Linked DNA regions of Homo sapiens: all the other regions are linked to region 2. The links are contacts of gene promoters, found by promoter capture Hi-C in blood cells and fetal thymus (Javierre and others, 2016). All regions are on one chromosome and are shown on one strand. The core of a region is centred on a gene start or on the middle of the fragment in contact, and the rest is flanking DNA. Distances in the headings are between cores, read along the strand shown. Region 1 overlaps BCORL1 (BCL6 corepressor like 1). Region 2 holds the start of SASH3 (SAM and SH3 domain containing 3). Region 3 has its middle 49 kb from the start of ELF4. Region 4 overlaps AIFM1 (apoptosis inducing factor mitochondria associated 1).

The links. The method cuts DNA at HindIII sites, captures the fragments that hold promoters and counts their contacts. A CHiCAGO score of 5 or more calls a contact.
Region 1: a contact is called between a fragment that was not itself captured here and the fragment with the promoter of SASH3 in region 2, in 2 of 17 cell types (M0 macrophages and M2 macrophages). The highest score is 6.1, in M0 macrophages.
Region 3: a fragment that was not itself captured here is called in contact with the fragment with the promoter of SASH3 in region 2 in 11 of 17 cell types (non-activated CD4 T cells, M0 macrophages, M1 macrophages and 8 more); the score reaches 13.3 in non-activated CD4 T cells.
Region 4: a fragment that was not itself captured here is called in contact with the fragment with the promoter of SASH3 in region 2 in 1 of 17 cell types (M0 macrophages); the score reaches 5.7 in M0 macrophages.

Annotation. Positions count from the first base shown.
Region 1 is chrX:130,038,829-130,043,687 of GRCh38, reverse strand. BCORL1 (BCL6 corepressor like 1) reads right to left here. Exons shown (of 14, transcript NM_001379451.1): 11 at 4,406-4,551. Among named protein-coding and RNA genes, the nearest start is that of BCORL1, 59 kb to the right of the region's middle. The HindIII fragment of the contact is 3,769 bases long and covers 178-3,946 here.
Region 2 is chrX:129,777,156-129,781,682 of GRCh38, reverse strand. It overlaps SASH3 (SAM and SH3 domain containing 3), which reads right to left and starts at 1,734. Exons shown (of 8, transcript NM_018990.4): 1 at 1,529-1,734. The coding sequence starts at 1,585. LOC124905215 (a long non-coding RNA gene) reads left to right here. Exons shown (of 2, transcript XR_007068328.1): 2 at 1,404-3,108. RefSeq lists enhancers at 1-116, 1,384-1,443, 1,494-1,573, 1,824-1,983. The HindIII fragment of the contact is 655 bases long and covers 1,191-1,845 here.
Region 3 is chrX:130,059,531-130,063,922 of GRCh38, reverse strand. No RefSeq gene overlaps it. Among named protein-coding and RNA genes, the nearest start is that of ELF4, 49 kb to the left of the region's middle. RefSeq lists silencers at 3,025-3,094, 3,115-3,414, 3,435-3,694. The HindIII fragment of the contact is 4,596 bases long and covers 410-4,392 here.
Region 4 is chrX:130,134,382-130,139,442 of GRCh38, reverse strand. AIFM1 (apoptosis inducing factor mitochondria associated 1) reads left to right here. Exons shown (of 16, transcript NM_004208.4): 9 at 742-850; 10 at 2,258-2,365; 11 at 2,712-2,800; 12 at 3,258-3,398. It also overlaps a transcript of RAB33A not described here. Among named protein-coding and RNA genes, the nearest start is that of ELF4, 26 kb to the right of the region's middle. The HindIII fragment of the contact is 1,276 bases long and covers 761-2,036 here.

The DNA of each region.
Region 1 (4,859 bases), core at 813-3,312, 260 kb before region 2:
CAAAAGAATCACTTGAACCTGGGAGGCGGAGGTTGCGGTGAGCCAAGATTGCGCCATTGCACTCCAGCCTGGCGACAGAGCGAGACTCCGTCTCAAAAATAAATAAATAAATCAGAAGTCCATGTAAATGTATCTAGGTGTAGGGGCTGAGGAGGCAGAGCAGTGGAGGGAAAAGCTTCCCCAGCCTCCAGTCTCCACACTCGGGTGCTTCCTGCAGCCACCCTACCAACCTACCCAGTGGTTCCTGGAGATTTGGCAGGGAGGCACACAGGCATGAAAAATGAGAGCCAAACACTCAGTTCAAGGCATCCAAACAGCCCCTGAGGTTGGCTGCACAACATTAGGAATGTACTAAATGGGCCAGGAGCGGTAGCTCATGCCTGTAATCCCAGCACTTTGGGAGGCCAAGGGAGGCGGATCACTTGAGGTCAGGAGTTGGAGACCAGCCTGGCCAACATGGTGAAACCTACCTCTATTAAAAATATAAAATTAGCCAGGCACAGTGGTGCACACCTATAGTCATAGCTACTCGGGAAGCTGAGGCAGGAGAATCACTTGAACCTGGGAGGCAGAGGTTGCAGTGAGCTGAGATCATGCAACTGCATTCCAGCCTGGGTAACAGTGAGATTTGTCTCAGGAAAAAAAAAAAAAAAAAGAGAATGTACTAAATCCCACTGAATTGTTCACTTTATTTTTTTTAATTAATTAATTTTTTGAGACGGAGTCTCGCTCTGTCGCCCAGGCTGGAGTGCAGTGGTGTGATCTCAGCTCACTGCAAACTCCACCTCCTGGGTTCAAGCAATTCTCCTGCCTCAGCCTCCCGAGTAGCTGGGATTACAGGCATGCACCACCACGGTCCAGCTAACTTTTGTATTTTTAGTAGAGAGGGGGTTTCACCATGTTGGTCAGGCTGGTCTCCAGTTCCTGACCTCAAGTGATCCACCCACCTTGGCCTCCCAAAGTGCTGGGATTACAGGGGTGAGCCACCACGCCTGGCCCGAATTGTTCACTTTAAAATGATTATGTTAGGTAAATTTTACCTCAATTTTTAAAAAAGTCCCTGAGTGCTGTCCTCTCACACACCCTACAAACAGCCTTTGGGCCTAAGGGCCCCCTGCTTCTTGAGAGCCTGCTGACTCCTGCCAGTGCCTGCCTTCCTGTGGTGGTAGGCCAAGGTCCCAGGCTGCCTTTGCATGGAAAAGAGCTGGTGCACTTTATAGCAACCCATTGGCTCCTGACTCCCATTATTAAGCCTGATTCATGCCCATAAATTGAGCAAAAGGTCTAAATGAAGACTGGGCATGGTGGCTCACACTTGTAATTCCAGCACTTTGGGAGGCCAAGGCGGGAAGATAGCTTGAGCCCAGGAGTTCCAGACCAGCCTGGGCAACATAGCAAACCCCGTATCTCAACAAAAAGATAAAATACAAAATTAGCTGGGACCGGTGGCACACACCCGTGGTCCTAGCTACTTGGGAGGCTGAGGCAGGAGGATTGCTTGAGCCCAGGAGTTTGAAACTGCACTGAGCTATGATTGTACCACTGCACTCCAGCCTCGGTGACAGAGCAAGACACTGTCTCTAGTAATTTTTAACAAATCTAAATAAAGGTGCTCAGCCAGGACAAGTTAGGAAGTGCTGGAGTCTCTAGCCTGGGCAACACAGCAAGACTCTGTCTCAAATATATATAAACACATATACGTACATACACACACACACCACAAATATGTGAAGTACTAGAGTTAAGAAAAGTCTTCTCTGGGGCCGGGCGCGGTGGCTCACGCCTGTAATTCCAGCACTTTGGGAGGCCGAGGCGGGCGGATCACGAGGTCAGGAGATCGAGACCATCCTGGCTAACATGGTGAAACCCCGTCTCTATTAAAAATACACAAAAATTAGCCGAGCTTGGTGGCGGGTGCCTGTAGTCCCAGCTCCTTGGGAGGCTGAGGCAGGAGAATGGTGTGAACCCGAGAGGTGGAGGTTGCAGTGAGCTGAGATCACGCCACTGCACTCGAGCCTTGGCGACAGAGCAAGACTCCGCCTAAAAAAAATAAAAGTCTTCTCTGAATTCTGCAACATAGACTGGCATTCAATTTAGTTTCAGGAGGTGTCAAAAAGCTGGCTAGCAGAAGTTCGAGACCAGCCTGGCCAACATGGCAAAACCCTGTCTCTACTAAAAATTCAAAAATTAGCCGGGCATAGTGGCGAATGCCTGTAATCCCAGCTACTCAGGAGGCTGAGGAATGAGAATCGCTTGAACCCGGGAGGCAGAGGTTGCAGTGAGCCAAGATCGCGCCAAAAACAAAACAAAACCAAAAGATAGCTAGTAGTTGGGATGAGGAGACAGAAAGATAAGAGAAACGTGTTTATTTCTCTCCTCTCTGTCTCTTTTTTTTTTTTTTTTTTTTTTGAGACACTGTCTCACTCTGTTGCCCAGGCTGGAGTGCAGTCACCATACCTGGCTAATTTTTAAATTTTTTTGTAGAGACAAGGTCTCCGTATGTTGCCCAGGCTGGTCTCAAACTCCTGGCCGGAAGCAATTCTCCTACCTGAGCCTCCCAAAGTGCTGGGATCACAGGCATAAGCCACTGCGCCTGGCCTATTTCCCATTTTTTAACTACTTAAAATGGTTTCCACATTCCTACTCCTTAGGGGTTTTGGAGAAGGGATTGGGGAAGCAAAGAGTTCATCTGTTTACTAAGGTGGTCACAGTGTTATTTAGATCTAGGAGCCCCTGAGACCCTCGGGATGGCAGTTTCTAGCCTAAGGAGGCCTCGGGACTAGACCGGTTTCTCAAAGACAGAGCTGCGTGTGGTGCCTTTGTCATATCAAGATGCTCTGGATGCTTGTTGGTCTCAGATTTTCCTGGGAATCCAGTGGAGTGCAGATAACACGTGTATGTGTCTAAGAGAGAGTGCATGTGTACACAGTACGTGGGAGGCAGCTACCAACGGTGGCTTGCCCCAAGCCCTGCACCCCTAGGGATGGTTCAGCTAAGGGGAACAACAGTCACCACTGGCCCAGGACAAATGACTGAATGAACATTCCAAGGCTGCTCTGCGCCTCAAGGACAGGGGCTTGGGAACCCAGAGCTGGAGGGAGGGAAAACAGAAAAGGCAGCCATCCTGCCCCCAGCCTGGGAGATGCTAGTCAGGCTGTACAGGCCTAAGGCCTGTGCTCCAAGGTTTAGTCAGCTCAGCTGAGACCTGGGTGGAGGCTGGCTGAGCAGGAGTCAAGATCTCCCGCGACAGCCTCCTATTACCCCCCACTCACCGCCTACCTAGTCCTCCCCTTCCATAAGAGCCTTTAGTTAGGTCCCCTTTGTTTCTTCCTCCATCATCAGCTACTTAGTTAACCTTTGTTGGATAAACAAATGAGCCCCTGGTTGGGAGCCTGGAACCATATATCTGGAGGTATAGAGGTTCGGGGCTAACTAGGGCCAAAGTCTGGGTGAGAAGAGGGAGCAGCTTTGGGCCAATCCTTAGTCCTGTTGGCTCCTGGCCAGAGAGGGGTTCTAACCACAATACAAACACTGCAGCCTCCAAGAAGGTTCAGAGATACAACTCCCAGCTGCTCCGCCGCTCAGGCAGTCTGAAGAAGTCACTGCTAGAGCAAGGGCCAAACTGTGATGTCACTAAGAGGCAGGGTTCCTTTATTCAGAGGTCAAGTCTGAGGAGATTCCTACTGAGCATGCCCAAGCTAGACTCCCCTCCTTCCCTCCTCCCCCTGCCCAACTCAGTAGAGCTATCTAACTGCAGACAAACAGCTGCTATCCACTAATGAGAAAATAAATGCATGTTGGCTTGTGGCCCTTGCCATGGGCCTCAACACCAGACACTTTACAGAAGGGGCAGGTGAGGGAGGAAAAGGAACGGAAGGAAGGGGGACCCTGGGATGCAGAGGGAACATCACAGTTCCCACAGGCAAGGGCTGTAAAGAATGAAGCTTCGGGAAGCATCCCAGGGGTTCCACTGTGATCCACTTGATCACAAACAAGAAGAAATTGCAAACACATAAGCAAAATGCTAAGTATCACTTTGTTGCAACTGACATCCCATTCAAAGCACAGGTCAACACATTCTGCCCCCAGCTAGGTCTACTAGTGGGGCTGCCGCCCCCACACAGAGGCCCACCCTAGATCCCTAGCTACGAAATAGGTCCCTGTGGGCTCCCAGGGCCCTGAAGAGGACGCACACACTTGCAGTAAGGGGATAAGAGGAAGTGGCCTTTGGACTTTTTCAAGCAAACTGAGATTCTTGAGCTCTTTGAATGAAAGCAGGTGAAGAGGGCAGATGGCCCTCATGGGAGCTGTTCAAGGTGGAAGGAGATGAAGAGGATGTCCTCACAAGTTCAGGAATCAGAGGCTGGCCCCAAGGACAACAGTGTCAAGTCTGGACCATGCTTACCACTGAGAAAGCGCTTCATGGTGTCGCTGCTGGCCAGCTTCATGGCTGTCTGACCCGAGTAGGTAGCCAGTGTGGGATCGGCCCCATAGGACAGCAGGAGCCAGATGGTCTCCAGGTTGTCATTGACCACCGCATCATGAACTGGCCTGTGGAGGTGATACAGGGTGAGGATAACAGGGCCCAAGTGGGAACTGGGGTGTCTACACTTAAGGCTACTGCATCAGGGGAAAAAACTGAGCTGACCCCCAGGTAACCTTGGTGTAATATGGTTTAAGACTTAGGACAAGGGAACCACCTGTAGCCTTGCAACTCTCCACTACCATCTCCCCAACTCCTCCTCTCTCTGTACCCCCTTTTCCTCCCTCCCATTACTCTCTCTCTCTTACGTTCCCCTGACATCTTGGGACAGTTCCCATGGCACAATGTAGCTCTATTGGTAGTTGTGGAGTTCACT
Region 2 (4,527 bases), core at 485-2,984:
GGGGACTTCTGGCTTCTGTGTGCCCCTAGGTACGTCTTCCTGATGTGGCACAGGGTCCCAGTGTCAAAGTGTCAGCTCTTTCTCACACTTTCCTCCAGCTCAGCGCCCCTGTGGTTTGAGGCCTAGCAGTGTCTATAGAGCAATCTCTGTTTCCCACCCCCACCAGCCAGAGAGCAAGGGGAAGTGGCCCTGCTCTCTTAGGAGTGGCAGCCAATGGCAGTCCTGCTGGGCCTAGCACCCTGCAGGGTTTGGACGGGGATGACAGAGCCCGTGTGAAGATTCATGAACCTCCCCCCTCCCCCGCCCACCACCACTGCAACCTTAGAGAAGCAGCTGGGGTGGGGAGAATACAGCCGGAAGTGGCAGCCACCCCAGGACCTGAGAGCTGGGGCAGGATGCACACCCCACTGCCCCGAGTCTCAGTCTTTCAGCTGCCTTGGCCTCCATCTCTGAGCTACTCCCCTGACAAGGGGGATCCACCATAGGGCACCTGGGCTGAGTTCCAGGGAAAATTGGCGGGGGATAGCCTGGGCCTCTTGGACCTAGTTCAGGCCTGCTTTGGGACTGTCCTAGCATCCCATTGGATGTGTAGGATATACTTGCTGATTGTCTGGGAGAATCCTTCAATTGAATTAAAGAATTAGGTCTAGAAATCCTCAAACCCAACCAAAGAAATCTGGAAATCCTCAAATTCAACCACAAAATCCTAGATCTGGCACAGCCTTCAAGGATTCTTCCAGTCCGGTCTCTGCCCCAGGGGGATGAACACCTCAGCCATCCATGACAGCTGTTTTTCCTCCTGGCCTTTAAAATCCTCCCTCCTCAGCCTTCACTCCTACTCACCACCTCAACTTAATTTCTCATTCCCCACCCAGGAAGAACCTGTATGCCCCCTGCATCCCACTGCACTTCCGGATGCCTTTTCCCCCAAGACTGGAATGGCCTCAGGCCCCCATCTCCAGGTTGGCTCCATCTCGGGTAGGGCCTGGGAGCTACCACAGAGCTGAGCCAAGTGGGCAGGGTCTGGGCCATGGCCAAAGTGGAGGAGGGGGTGGCAGTCCTGTGAGCATCATGGCTCCAAGCTGGGCAGCCCAGCAGGGCCCTTTGAGTGAGATGGCTCCTGAGAGGCCGTGGCCGGGGCAGAAGTGGCAGCAGGACCAGCGTAGAGGAGAGATAGTTAAGTACAAGCTTAGGGTTCAGCTTAAGCATTGTATTTTGTTATTCTCAAATTCTAGTCTAAGATTCTGGCCCCTAATTTTAGATCTTTTTTCCCATTCTTCTAGGGTTGAATTGCATGACTCTAGATTTCTAAGGATCTATTCTGTAACTCTGTTGCTCCAGAATTTTAAACATCTCTTCTGTACTTCTGTTAACCTTTGGGTCCCTGTCCCGTTGCCTTCTAGGTGAGTGGCCCTCACCTACAGACTCAACATATGGCCTTTGGCTCTTCCCACTTCCAAGAGTCTTGGAAGGGATGGGTCGAGCAAGCAGAGGAAAGGAAGATGTGAGTTCCCAAAATGCTCCTCACCTTTTTCTTCTGAGTGGGCTCCTTCTCACTGGCATTGGAGGGCTTGCGGCGCAGCATGGTCCTCCACCCTGGGAGACTCCGTCCCTGCTCTCCTAGGTGTCAAGATGCAGAGGCCTCTTGCTTAGCCTCACCAGAACTGCCCGGGGGCACGGCATGAACCGAGCCTTCAGCTGCCACTCTGACTGCTGCAGTGGCAGCTTGGGGGTGCGGGCCATGGACACCCGGCAGCAGCAGCATACAGGAAGCCCTGCCACGTGACCTACTCTTACAGCAATCGCAGCCCCTGCCGGCCCCTAGGGAGGAAGGAAGTCCAAGCTTCAGTCTCCAGAGATTCTGATGCAGACGGCTCTTGGGTTGAACAGTCAGAGAAAGTCCCTACCTTGTTGTCTCATGTCGATCATCATCAGTCCTTCTGCTCCATCTTCCTAGAGGTGGACAATCAGCTCGACATTATATGGCGTACCCAAGCCCTTTATCTCACTGACCAGAATCCAGAAACCAGAAGTTGGACCATCTGGCTGCCTGTTGGATCAATGCTCCCGGTCAACTCACGTCTTCAAGGTCGTCACTGCCATCACTACCACTACCATCACCCCTGTGACCATCACCACTGCTACCATCACTCCTATCAATAGCCATCACCATACAGCCATCACCCCTACAGCCATCAGGCCTGCAGCCATCCCCGCTGCCATCAGCACACCTATAGCCATTGTCACTATGGTAATCACCTCTACAGTTGACATCCTTCAGCCATCACCTCTACAGTCATCACCATTGCTGCTATCACCCTTCCAGCCATCATCCTTACAGCTGTCACCCTTCTGGACATTACAGCCAACCGCACTCATGACCCTCTCACCCCTATAACCATCGTCCCTACAGTCATCTCTCCTACAACCATCATCACATCCGTGCAGCCATCAGCCCTGCAGCCATCACTCCTACAGCCATCAGTACACCTAAAGCCATCATCACTAGAGCAGTCACCCCTCCAGTCAGTACCCCTCAGCCATCATGAGTATATTTATCACCACCACAGCTGAAAAGCACTTACAGCCAACTCCACACCTCTAGCAAGTATCCAACAGGCATTTATCAAACACCTATGCAGTATATTCAATTTGTGGGTTGTCTGTGGCAGATTTTAATAACTTTAATAACTTCTTGGTATTACAAAAGCAACTTGTATTTGTCATACAATTTCACAAACACATAAACAAAAAAAATTTCAAAATTTCCCATCATTGTCCTCTACACTGTTTTAAGCATCTATCTACTCTCTGTCTATAAACATTTTTTTTCTTTTTACAAAAATCATACTGCTCAGAAAACAGATAATTGGTTTGGGGAGAAGGGGAGGGGAGAGAAGGGAAGGGAGACATCACACAGGGTAACAGGAAGCTTTTAGGAGTGATGAATATGTTCACTATCTTGACTGTGGTGATGATTTCATGGGGGAATACACATGTCAAAACGTATCAAATTGTATACTTCAAATATGTGCAGTTTATTGTAGCTCCATTATACCTCAATAAAGCTGTTTAAAATTTTTTAATTAAAAAAGGTCATAATTCACACTATTGGTGTCTGCTTTTCACACTAAACACAGTATCTTTTTTGTTTTTTTTTCGAGATGGAGTCTCTCACTCTGTCTCCCAGGCTGGAGTGCAGTGGCGTGATCTCGGCTCACTGCAACCTCCACCTCCTGAGTTCAAGCAATTCTTGTGCCTCTGCCTCCCAAGTAGCTGGGACTATAGGTGCGTACCACCACCCTGGTTAATTTTTGTATTTTTTGTAGAGACAGGGTTTCACCATGTTGCCCAGGCTGGTCTTGAACTCCTGGTCTCAAGTGACCTCTTTGCCTCATCCTCCCAAAGTGCTGGGATTACAGGCGTGAGCCACTACGTCCAGCTGAACACAGTATCAAGATTGTCTCATGCTATGAAATAGTCTTCAACTACGTAATTTATAACGGCTGTGGAACATCCCATTGTGTGGATGTGCCGTGCTTATTTCACCAAGCCCTTGCTGATGAACTTGGGTTGGCTTAAATTTTTAAATTATTCATTGAACATACTTATGGTAAATATTCACATCCATAGTTTTTTTTCTGTAGGGGAAATATCCAGAAGAGGAATTGCTGGGGTCAAAGGTATGCACATTTTTAAGGCTTTCAATTCTGTGGTACTTGTGAAATACTAGGCTTGTCCACCCCTGTTCCCAAGATGTTCTCGTGACTTCCTCTCCGATTCTGCTTTATGCCCTCTGACCATCCAACCTTCAGGGTGAGCTCAGGGAAGATAAGATCTTTCTTCCCTAAGCTGAAACCATACATTCTTTGGCCTACTCAGTCGGCCAGGCAGACTCATGAAAAGATTCCACACCCCAGATCTCCTTCCCACTGGCCTGTGTTTTCCACCCTGAAAGTCCCTCCCAGGCGGCCCAGGGTCACTAGCAAGCGCGGTAACTGGTTAAGGCTTTTCGGCATATACAGTAGCCTGGCAGCCGTGTAGGGGACCCATCGGGCCTTTGGGGCTCTGCGTGACCAGGAGCAGGAGGGCAGCCCCAGAGGGTTCTGGGATTGGGGACGCCGCTGTAGTGGCCTGGGGCACCTGGAGCCAGAGCCGTGAGGGAGGAAGCAGGTCGCAGAATCTTCCGGGCCTGCGCAGCGGCTGCGTCCCTGGCCGCCTCGCAGGATGTGCCCGCTTCCTGTTTGCTCAGCGCCGGCAGCGACAGAAGATCACACACTAACCGCAGAACCTTCAAAGGCGGCCAGCAAACCAGGGCACAGGGCTGGCGAGGCTTGGGAAAAGGCAGCGAGAGGGAGGTGAGGGTGCCTTGGAGAGAAATATGGAGAGGTGACCAGCTCCCAGGACAGAAGGGAGCAAGTGTTTTCAACGGCTTCCTTCGTTCTCCTTTTCAGATCTGTCTCCTCTGTTCAGGAACACCTCCTCCCCGCCACCTGGGGACCGGGGCCAGTGGAGGCGGGGTGTCCA
Region 3 (4,392 bases), core at 1,458-3,957, 280 kb before region 2:
TGCCACTGTTTTCCTGACCTCTTAAATTTGAAATTTCAGAGCTGTCTGATCGTTGCCTTCACTTCACCCCCATCCCCCTCTCCCGTCTCCCGAAGTCCAGCTTGTGGTTTGCAATGTCCGTAAAACCTCGCCTTTCTTCCACATTCCCAGAAGCCTCCACCCTAGTTCAAACTACCCAAGACACACAGGGGCTCCCAGCGTGATCTGTCTCAACCCCTCCCATTTGCCCTTTGATAAAAAGCCCTCACTGACTCCTCCTGGCCTACAGGTAGGGGTGATACTCAAAATACTTAATCTCTAATCCTTTCTAAACTTAGCCCTTTCGTTGCTGAAGCCAGTCCAGGGGTCCTGGAATAGGGATGGGGGAGCACTTGGGCTCAGGGCAGTAGCTCCGGAAGTATTTTAAGCTTAGCATCAGCCCTGTCTTCAGGACAAAGCCCCAAGTCCTTGGCCTGCCATCAAGACCCTTCACCTTTGGGTCTTAACTGACTTCCCCAGTCAACTCACCCTGCTCCTTCTGCCACCACTCATACCCCAAGGCACTGCTCCAGTCAAACTGATGGATTTGCTGGCCTGTGAACATGCCTCTGTTTACAATTTCCAAACTCTGTGCTTTTGCTCTTATTATCTACTACATATATTCTAAGCATTTTAAACCTGGAAACCAAGATCCTCCATTTATCTTTTACCTGCTCTAGGCAATACAGACAAACTCAACATTATTTACACACTCCTGTGTTTTCTTAATGAATATTCTTCCCTTCTATGTATCTTTTCCTTTAGAAATACAATCCATTGGCCATGCGCGGTGGCTCATGCCTGTAATCCGAGCACTTTGTGAGGCCGAGGCAGGCAGATCACGAGGTCAAGAGATCGAGATCATCCTGGCCAACATGGTGAAACCCCGTCTCCACTAAAAATACAAAAATTAGCTGGGCATGGTGGTGTGTGCCTGTAGTCCCAGCTACTCGGGAGGCTGAGGCAGGAGAAACACTTCAACCCGGGAGGCAGAGGTTGCAATGAGCCGAGATCGCGCCACTGCACTCCAGCCTGGCGACAGAGTGAGACTCCATCTTGAAAAAAAAAAAAAAAAAAAAAAGAAACGAAAAGGAAAGAAAGAAAATCCATCCACAGCCAGGCACAGTGGCTCACGCCTGTGATCCCAGCACTTTGGGAAGCTGAGGTGGGCGGATCACCTGAGGTCAGGAGTTGGAGACCAACATGGCCAATATGGCGAAACCCCATCTCTACTAAAAATACAAAAATTAACCGGGCTTGGTGGCACGCACCTATAATCCCAGCTACTGGGGAGGCTGAGGCAGAGAATCCCTTGAACCTGGAGGTGGAATTTGCAGTGAGTCGAGATTGTACCTGGGTGATCAAAGCAAGACTGTCTCAAAAAAAAAAAAAAAAAAAAAGAAAAGAAAAAAAGTACAATCCATCCTTCAAGATCTGATTGGTTCCACTCAATCAGAATGTCCTTCCTATCCTGCTAGTACCAATTAAATTGTGTCCCTCCTTCAAGACTCGATTCATGGACTCTGCCTCCCCAGACCAGTCTGTCCTAAGTGAGTTATTTAAAACTTATTGCAATTGCCACTCTTTCAGCAACTGATCATGAACACCCTGTGACATCTATTATAATGCAAACTGTTACTTAAATCTTCAATGACCTGTACCTATTTAGTGTCCCCAATTAGCACATTACCTCCTTGAGGAGTGGGAGGGACTGTATCAACCACGTAACATGGCACAGTACAAAGGATCAAGGTAATGGTTACTGATGGAGCCGGTGGGAGATGGGGACCAAACTTTGAGGTAGGTGACCTCTGACCTCCCCTCTGCACAGGCACTCACCCCAGGTGCTCCACTGCTCTGGGCCTGCCCTCCCTGGCTCAGTGCCCTCATGGTATCCCCAACCCCACCCCCCCATCTTAGCACTCAAAATTTGTTACTATTTTGAACATCCTCTACCCCTAAAGCAACTTCCCTGTCCAGTTTCTTTCCTACTCCAAGTGTGAAACTAGCTAAACCAATTAACCTGTGCTGATACAGTTATGGGAGAGGGCTAGAGGAGAACCTCAGGAGACAGGTTCATTTTAACCAGAGTCATGTGGCAGTAAGTCTCTGCCTTTTCTTGGTTTAATGGAGTCAGGAGTCAAGAGATGACCCTCATCTCCCAGCAGCTGATATGTTACTCCCTCCTCTGGGTTCCCACAGCACTTTGTTTTCTTTATTTTTTTGAGATAGAGTCTCCCTCCGTTGCCCAGGCTGGAGCGCAGTGGTGCGATCTTGGGTCACTGCAGCCTCTGCCTCCCGAGTTCAAGCGGTTCTCCTGCCTCAGCCTCCCAAGTAGCTGTGACTACAGCTGCGTGCCACCACGCCCGGCTAATTTTTGTATTTTTAGTAGAGAACGGGTTTCACCATGTTAGCCAGGCTGGTCTCGAACTCTTGACCTCAAGTGATCCGCCCACCTCAGCCTCCCAAGGTGCTGGGATTACAGCCCTGAGCCACCTCACAGCACTTTGTAAATACCTCTTATGGTAGCACTTAGCACAGTACAGTTCTTTAATTACGTGTTTATGTAGGGTTCCCCGCCAATAGGCTGTGAGCTCCTCAAGGACAGGGACTGTGTGTTAGTCACTGATATATCCCTAGTGCCTAGCACACAGTAGGTTCTTAATAAATGCTTATTGAAAGAAGGAACTGGTCCTGATTTTAATTCTGAGACTTCTGCCCTATGCTATGGCAGGCAAGAGGAGAGGGAGGAGGACAATCCACACTTGGGAGCTAAGGCAGCTTTCTGCCCGCTCCTATAACACTGCAGGCGGCTACTTCCTTTGCCCCTGGAGTGTTAACAGACATCCCCGGATCACAGGGTCCATGAGGAGCCCAGGGCTGCTTGCCAGCTGTGCGTTGCTGTCACCAGGTGCCACGTGCAACTCCCGAACTCCCGCCCTTTGCTGCTGCCCGCTTCCAGGGACTGCCTCGCCACTATTTCCTCACCCCTGGGTGGGGCTGTGCGGTGGAAGTGTCAGCTCCGGTGGGTGGGGCGGGACAAGAAGTTATTCTGACGGTCACAGGCCTTTCTGATCCCATCTTGTACTCCAAAAGAGGCAGTTGCCTCCAGCTCTGAAGCCGCTGGACCTGGGGTGAGTGAGCTCCTTCCCCTCCCAGACTGAGGTCCCAGCCTCCGAGAACTTCGGGCCCCGGCGCGCCGGACGTGGAGGCCGACGTCCAGCAGGTGGCGCTGTCGAGCCAGCGATGGCGGGAGAGTGGCCCGGCGGGGCCCGGGAAGGGAGGGGCAGCCAGGGTTGGGCCTACCGTCCCTGGCGGAGGCGGCCGCGGCCGCGGCTGGCGTCTTCCGGTCCCCCGATCTTGCCCCTGCGCCTGCAACTGTCCCCGGATGGTTCTGGCCGCCACCAAAGCCCTCCGCTGCTCCGGAGCTTCGAACTTTCCCCTCGACCCCAGCCCCCTTCACTTTCCAGGGGGAATTTAGCCGGCCGCCGAATGCGCTCCCCCATTGGCCAGCCGCGCTCTGGCCCCGCCCCCGGCGCCCCCTCCCTCAGCCTCGCGGACCAGCAGGTGAGCACGCGGAGTCGCAGTCACCCGGCCTGCCCTCCCCTCCCCTCGCGCGCCGCCGCCTTCTACCGTGAAGCGGGAGAGCGATCGAGGCGCCCCAGACAGCCGTTTGCTAGCGGAGGGACCTGACCGTCCGCCGCACGAGCCCGGCTCCCAAGGACCGGCGCGGGGCCTAAAGACGTCGCCCCCAGAGGCCGGACGCTGCGGCTCGGCCGACCCCCGCGCGGTGGCAGCCGGAGCGCTAGGGAAACGAGTGGAGCCCCGGCCCGGATCCTGCTGCGGGATCCAGAAGGCCCGAGCACTTCGCGTCCCCCTGCCCAGCAGTTGAGCAGACGCCCCTGGGGCGGACCCCACCCTTCCCAAACACACACACACTGGTCTTTGCATGGGCAGGACACAGTTAAACACCCACCAGGCCTCCCGGTTATTGGGTTAGAGTATGGACCGAGCAGGAGTTTACTGCCCCATTCACCACCGCCCCCAACCCCACCTACCCCAAATAGGGATGCGGAGACTATCCCTCCTCCCACCAAGACTTGAACAGAGCCTCTCTTTCAAGCCCAAAGAGCGTTCTGATAAGACCCTCATTAACCATAGGTTCGTGAGCTCGGCATGAAGGAGGAACTAATTTTGGCTAAACAGATCTTTATGGTCCTCAGTGTGATGCTCTGTCAGTAGGTGGGTACATTGGCCTCCATTTGGCTGATGGAGCAATTAAGGCTGGGAAAGATTAGGTTCTCGCCCAAGGTCAGCCTAGGTAGTTAGGAGTGGTGCTGGCTCTTTCCTCTACACCATACTAAAAGGACTGGG
Region 4 (5,061 bases), core at 149-2,648, 360 kb before region 2:
TAAGAGTACCTAAATAAAAAGCAAGGAGGTGTTCTGCTTCTTAACACTGTGCTTATAAAAACTGCTGTCATTTTTCAGGGATAAGATTTGTCCTGTCTTTTTTTTTTTTTCGAGACTGAATCTCGCTCTATCACCCAGGCTGGAGTGCGGTGGTGCGATCTTGGCTCACTGCAACCTCCGCCTCCCGGGTTCAAGCGATTCTTGTGCCTCAGCCTTCCAAGTAGCTAGAATTACAGGCATGTGCCACCACGACCGGCTAATTTTTTTTTTTTTTGTATTTTTAGTAGGGACGTTTTACCCTGTTGGCCAGGCTGTGTACTGTCTTTTAAGTTCTTCCTAGAACAAGGCTTGTCAGCCTCTGCAGTATTGGCATTTTGAGCTGGATAATTGTAGTGGGGGCTGTCTTATGCCATTGTAGTATGTTAGCAGCATCCTGGCCTCTGCACACTAAATGCTGGGAGCACCTACTTGCCCTGACAACCAAAAATGTCTTCAGATATTGCCAGATGTCCTCCTGGGGAAGATAGGGACAAAACTGCCACCAATTGAGAACCACTGTTTATAGAAGGAATTTTACCATGAAGAAATAAATTTGCATTAATAACATAGAAGTTATAATTGAGTCACTTTATACAAGGAGAAAATTTACTTTTGCCAAAGATTTAGAAGAAACTACTTTCTAGTATTATTATCCTATGCCCCTTTTGGAAATTAATGGACTAAACTGATGTGATCCTGCAGATTGGAGACTTTAGAAGCTTGGAGAAGATTTCACGGGAAGTCAAATCAATTACGATTATCGGTGGGGGCTTCCTTGGTAGCGAACTGGCCTGTGCTCTTGGCAGAAAGGGTGAGTATTGAGGAGTGACCTTGATTTTCTTTCTCTAGTCTTATATAGCTTTTCTGTGAATCCCAGAGATGTGTTTGGCAGGATCAGTAGGAAGAGTTTAATTAAGGTTTATTTATTTATTTTTTTTTGAGATGGAGTCTCGCTCTGTCACCCAGGCTGGAGTGCAGTGGCGCGATCTCGGCTCACTGCAAGCTCCGCTTCCCGGGTTCAGGCCATTCTCCTGCCTCAGCCTCCCGAGTAGCTGGGACTACAGGCGCCTGTAACCACGCCTGGCTAATTTTTTGTATTTTTAGTAGAGATGGGGTTTCACCGTGTTAGCCAGGACTGTCTCGATCTCCTGACCTGGTGATCCGCCCACCTTGGCCTCCCAAAGTGCTGGGATTACAGGCGTGAGCCACCACACCCAGCCTAATTAAGGTTTATATAGTGAAAAGCTAAACACTGAGATTAGTTCTGGTGAGGGATCCCTTGGTGACCAAAAAGCTGTCACCTGAGCAACTTAACAGCGATGCTTTTTTTTTTTTTTTTTTGAGATGGAGTTTCACTCTTGTTGCCCAGGCTGGAGTGCAATGGTGTGATCTCTGCTCACCACAACCTCCGCCTCCCAGGTTCAAGCGATTCTCCTGTCTCAGCCTCTGGAGTAGCTGGGATTACAGGCATGCACCACCACACCTGGCTAATTTTGTATTTTTGGTAGAGACAGGGTTTCTCCATGTTGGTCAGGCTGGTCTTGAACTCCCAACCTCAGGTGATCCACCCACCTCGGCCACCCAAAGTGCTGGGATTATAGGTGTGAGTCACTGCACCTGGCCAACAGCAATACTTTCTTTCCTTTCTTTTCCTCTACCCTCTATGCCAGGACTCCTTAGAAATAAAATATTAAGGAAAGTGAGTTATGAAGATGATAAGGGCAATGCAGACTACAGAATTATGGGTGTCTTTGAACTGCTGCTTCCTGTAAAATGCCAAAAACTTCTTTGGGCACATGATGGTTCCCAGCTTGAGAGATCTGTGAGCTCCAGTTGGAATGTTTCATGGCAACTAGTTTTCTTAATGTTCTTTTTCAGATATATGAAATCAGGGCATCTTTTCAGGAGGATGCTTCCTATTCAGAGGTTGCAAAGCACTTATGTAAGCCTTAGGTGACTGCATGGGTGGAAGTGCACAGAGTTCACCATCTGAAGCTTAATCTGGGGCCAGCAGTTCTGATACCTGTTGTATTTGCGTTACAAATGAACTTGAGCACCGAGGCCCTCATGCCCACTGTCCTGTAAGTGGGCGCTCGGCCTGGATTGCAGCTCTGCCCTGTCTGTAGTGAGGGCTGCCTGCTGCTCCTTTACTTCTCTTCCTGTATTCCTAGGATTGACTTTTGCTTCCTGCTGTAACTACTCTGTTTCTTCTTCCCAGCTCGAGCCTTGGGCACAGAAGTGATTCAACTCTTCCCCGAGAAAGGAAATATGGGAAAGATCCTCCCCGAATACCTCAGCAACTGGACCATGGAAAAAGTCAGACGAGGTAGAGAGACTGTTTCTATATGCTGCCACTCTATTTCCTTTGAGTGTGACCTAAGGCAAACTTCGCTTCTATAGGAACCCCCTTGACATAAGCCCTATCACCTGGCCTGTAAAATGTTTCCACCATTCTCCAGTCAGCTAAGTTCATCTAGGTGTTCTGAATCAGATGCCCCAAATTCCTGGAAGTGCTGAAAATGAACCATGGGTGTAGGTTCTTGCAGCTCTCCAAAACTGCCTGTGTACTGATAATTGGTTTTACCGTGGAGGAGACCGCTGGTCAGCTTTCCTACTTCCCATGAAAGTGATAGCCTTGTAGGCTCACTCTCAGGTCTTGTTTGCCTTTACAGAGGGGGTTAAGGTGATGCCCAATGCTATTGTGCAATCCGTTGGAGTCAGCAGTGGCAAGTTACTTATCAAGCTGAAAGACGGCAGGAAGGTAAGGAAGGAAAAGATAGTCTGCCAAGAGGCCTTCCAGTTCTCCACTCCCCTTGCCTCATTTTTACTCCTTCATTTGACACCAGTAGATTAGTTTTCCTGGCAGTTGCCATTAACCTGATATAATTTTCCGAATTAACCATCCCTCCATTAAAACAGAATGATGAGAGCCAGAGTAGGCTCCTGTGAACCACTTTCCCTTAGCCCCATTCTATCTGTCTCACAGAGTTTTGAGTCCTGGCTAGGGTGGCAGATTTCTGTTCGAATGACATGGGGGATGTGCATGGGATGGGGTGGTGGAGGCTTATGAAATAGAACTTAAAATCCATTTATCAGAGGTAAGTTAACCCATGATTTTTTAAAGTCCCAATTCTTAATGGCATGAAGGGCCATTGTTACGCCTGTAGGCATAAATGGAAACTGTGGTAATTGACTGAATTATTTCTTTTTTGCCTCAGGTAGAAACTGACCACATAGTGGCAGCTGTGGGCCTGGAGCCCAATGTTGAGTTGGCCAAGACTGGTGGCCTGGAAATAGACTCAGATTTTGGTGGCTTCCGGGTAAATGCAGAGCTACAAGCACGCTCTAACATCTGGGTGGTAAGTGTGCTACAGCATGACCAGGCATAATTCATTCTCCCTAGCCTGTGAACAAGTCTGCCCGGTGGTGTGCTAAAGCTCATCAACAGCCTAACCAAATAGGGTCAGAGTGTTTGGAGGCTGAGGGTACAGAATAGAAATGTGTGAACTGCTTGATTCAGAAGACCAGGTATGGCCTCATCTGCAAGCTAGTGGCAGATGAAATGAACAGTGTGCATGCCTGCAGGGGTAGAGCTCTTCCGGTTCTACTTATTGGCAGCAGCTACTGGCATAACCCCTGGTGGGCATGCACATAAGCCTTCAGATGGATCTGCTGTTCCCTTTGCTCAAACTTGAATCCGGAGGATGGAGGATGAAGCAATGTTATAACCTGTTCCCTAGAAAGGAAAATTACTCTGTTTTCATTTTCCTTGAGTACTATTTTTAGCTGTTTTTTACAATCTATTATGACATAAACAAGACTATAGTATGTAGGAACCATGAGGTAATTTCCCCATTGCTAGTTACAAGTGTATTGTGTTTGTTTATGGACTCTGCAACTAAGGACGTAGGTACCTTGGAGGAATTTTTTTCCCCCTCCAAACCTTGTTTTTTTTTTTTTTTTTAAAAAAAAAAAGATGTACTGGATCTTTTTAACCTGTTATAAAAGTAATACGTGGGCCAGGAGAAGTGGCTTACACCTGTAATCCCAGCACTTTGGGAGGCTGAGGCAGGTGGATCACTTGAGATCAGGAGTTTGAGACCAGCCTGGCTAACATGGTGAAACCCTGTCTCTCCTAAAAATACAAAAATTAGCCGGGTGTGGTGGCACAGGCCTGTAATCCCAGCTACTTGGGAGGCTGAGTGAGGCAGGAGAATCACTTGAACTAAGGAGGCAGAGGCTGCAGTGAGTGGAGATCATGCCACTGCCCTCCAGCCTGGGCAACAACAGAGCAAGACTCAGTCTCAAAAAAAAAAAAAAAGTAATATGTGGTCAATGTAGAAGACAGACAAGAAGGAGAGAGGAGAGGAAAGTCACCTGCAGCAACCATTAATATTTTGGTGTATTTCCTTCCCTGTGTTTCCTTGCATGTAGGTTTTATTGTTGGTTTGTTTTATTCGTGGCAAGCATACTATATATAATATTCTGCTCTTTTCCACTTAACACCATAAATGTAAGCATTTTCTATGTTGCTTCAGACTTTGTAAACAGTTTAATGACTATATATTCCATTAAGCGAATTTCACAGTTTACGGTTGCTCACTCGTTGGATTTTTAGGTTGCTTTGGGGGAGTCTAAATAGCCACAAAGATGAACAAAGGGTTAGAGAGCTCAAATGCCACATCCTTCATGAAGCTGGTCCAGTTCACCCCCGGCTGGAGGTTCTCGCCCTCTGCTTGAAATACTTGACTCCTTTAATCTGTACCTCTCATATGGCACACTACTGTTTACATTGCTCTGTAGTTGTGAGCAAGGCTGTATCTTTCTGTACTAGGTTGTATGCTCCTCATAGTCAAGGTCCATGTCAGTTTTGTCTCAGCAACCCGGACAACATAATACTTTTGTATATAATAAGTACTCCATAAATATTTGTCGAATGAATGAATACTGAGTGACAAAAAGAAATCTAAGAAAACATTTCTAGGTGAGAGGCAGTCACATCCAAAAACTGGTTTCTACATA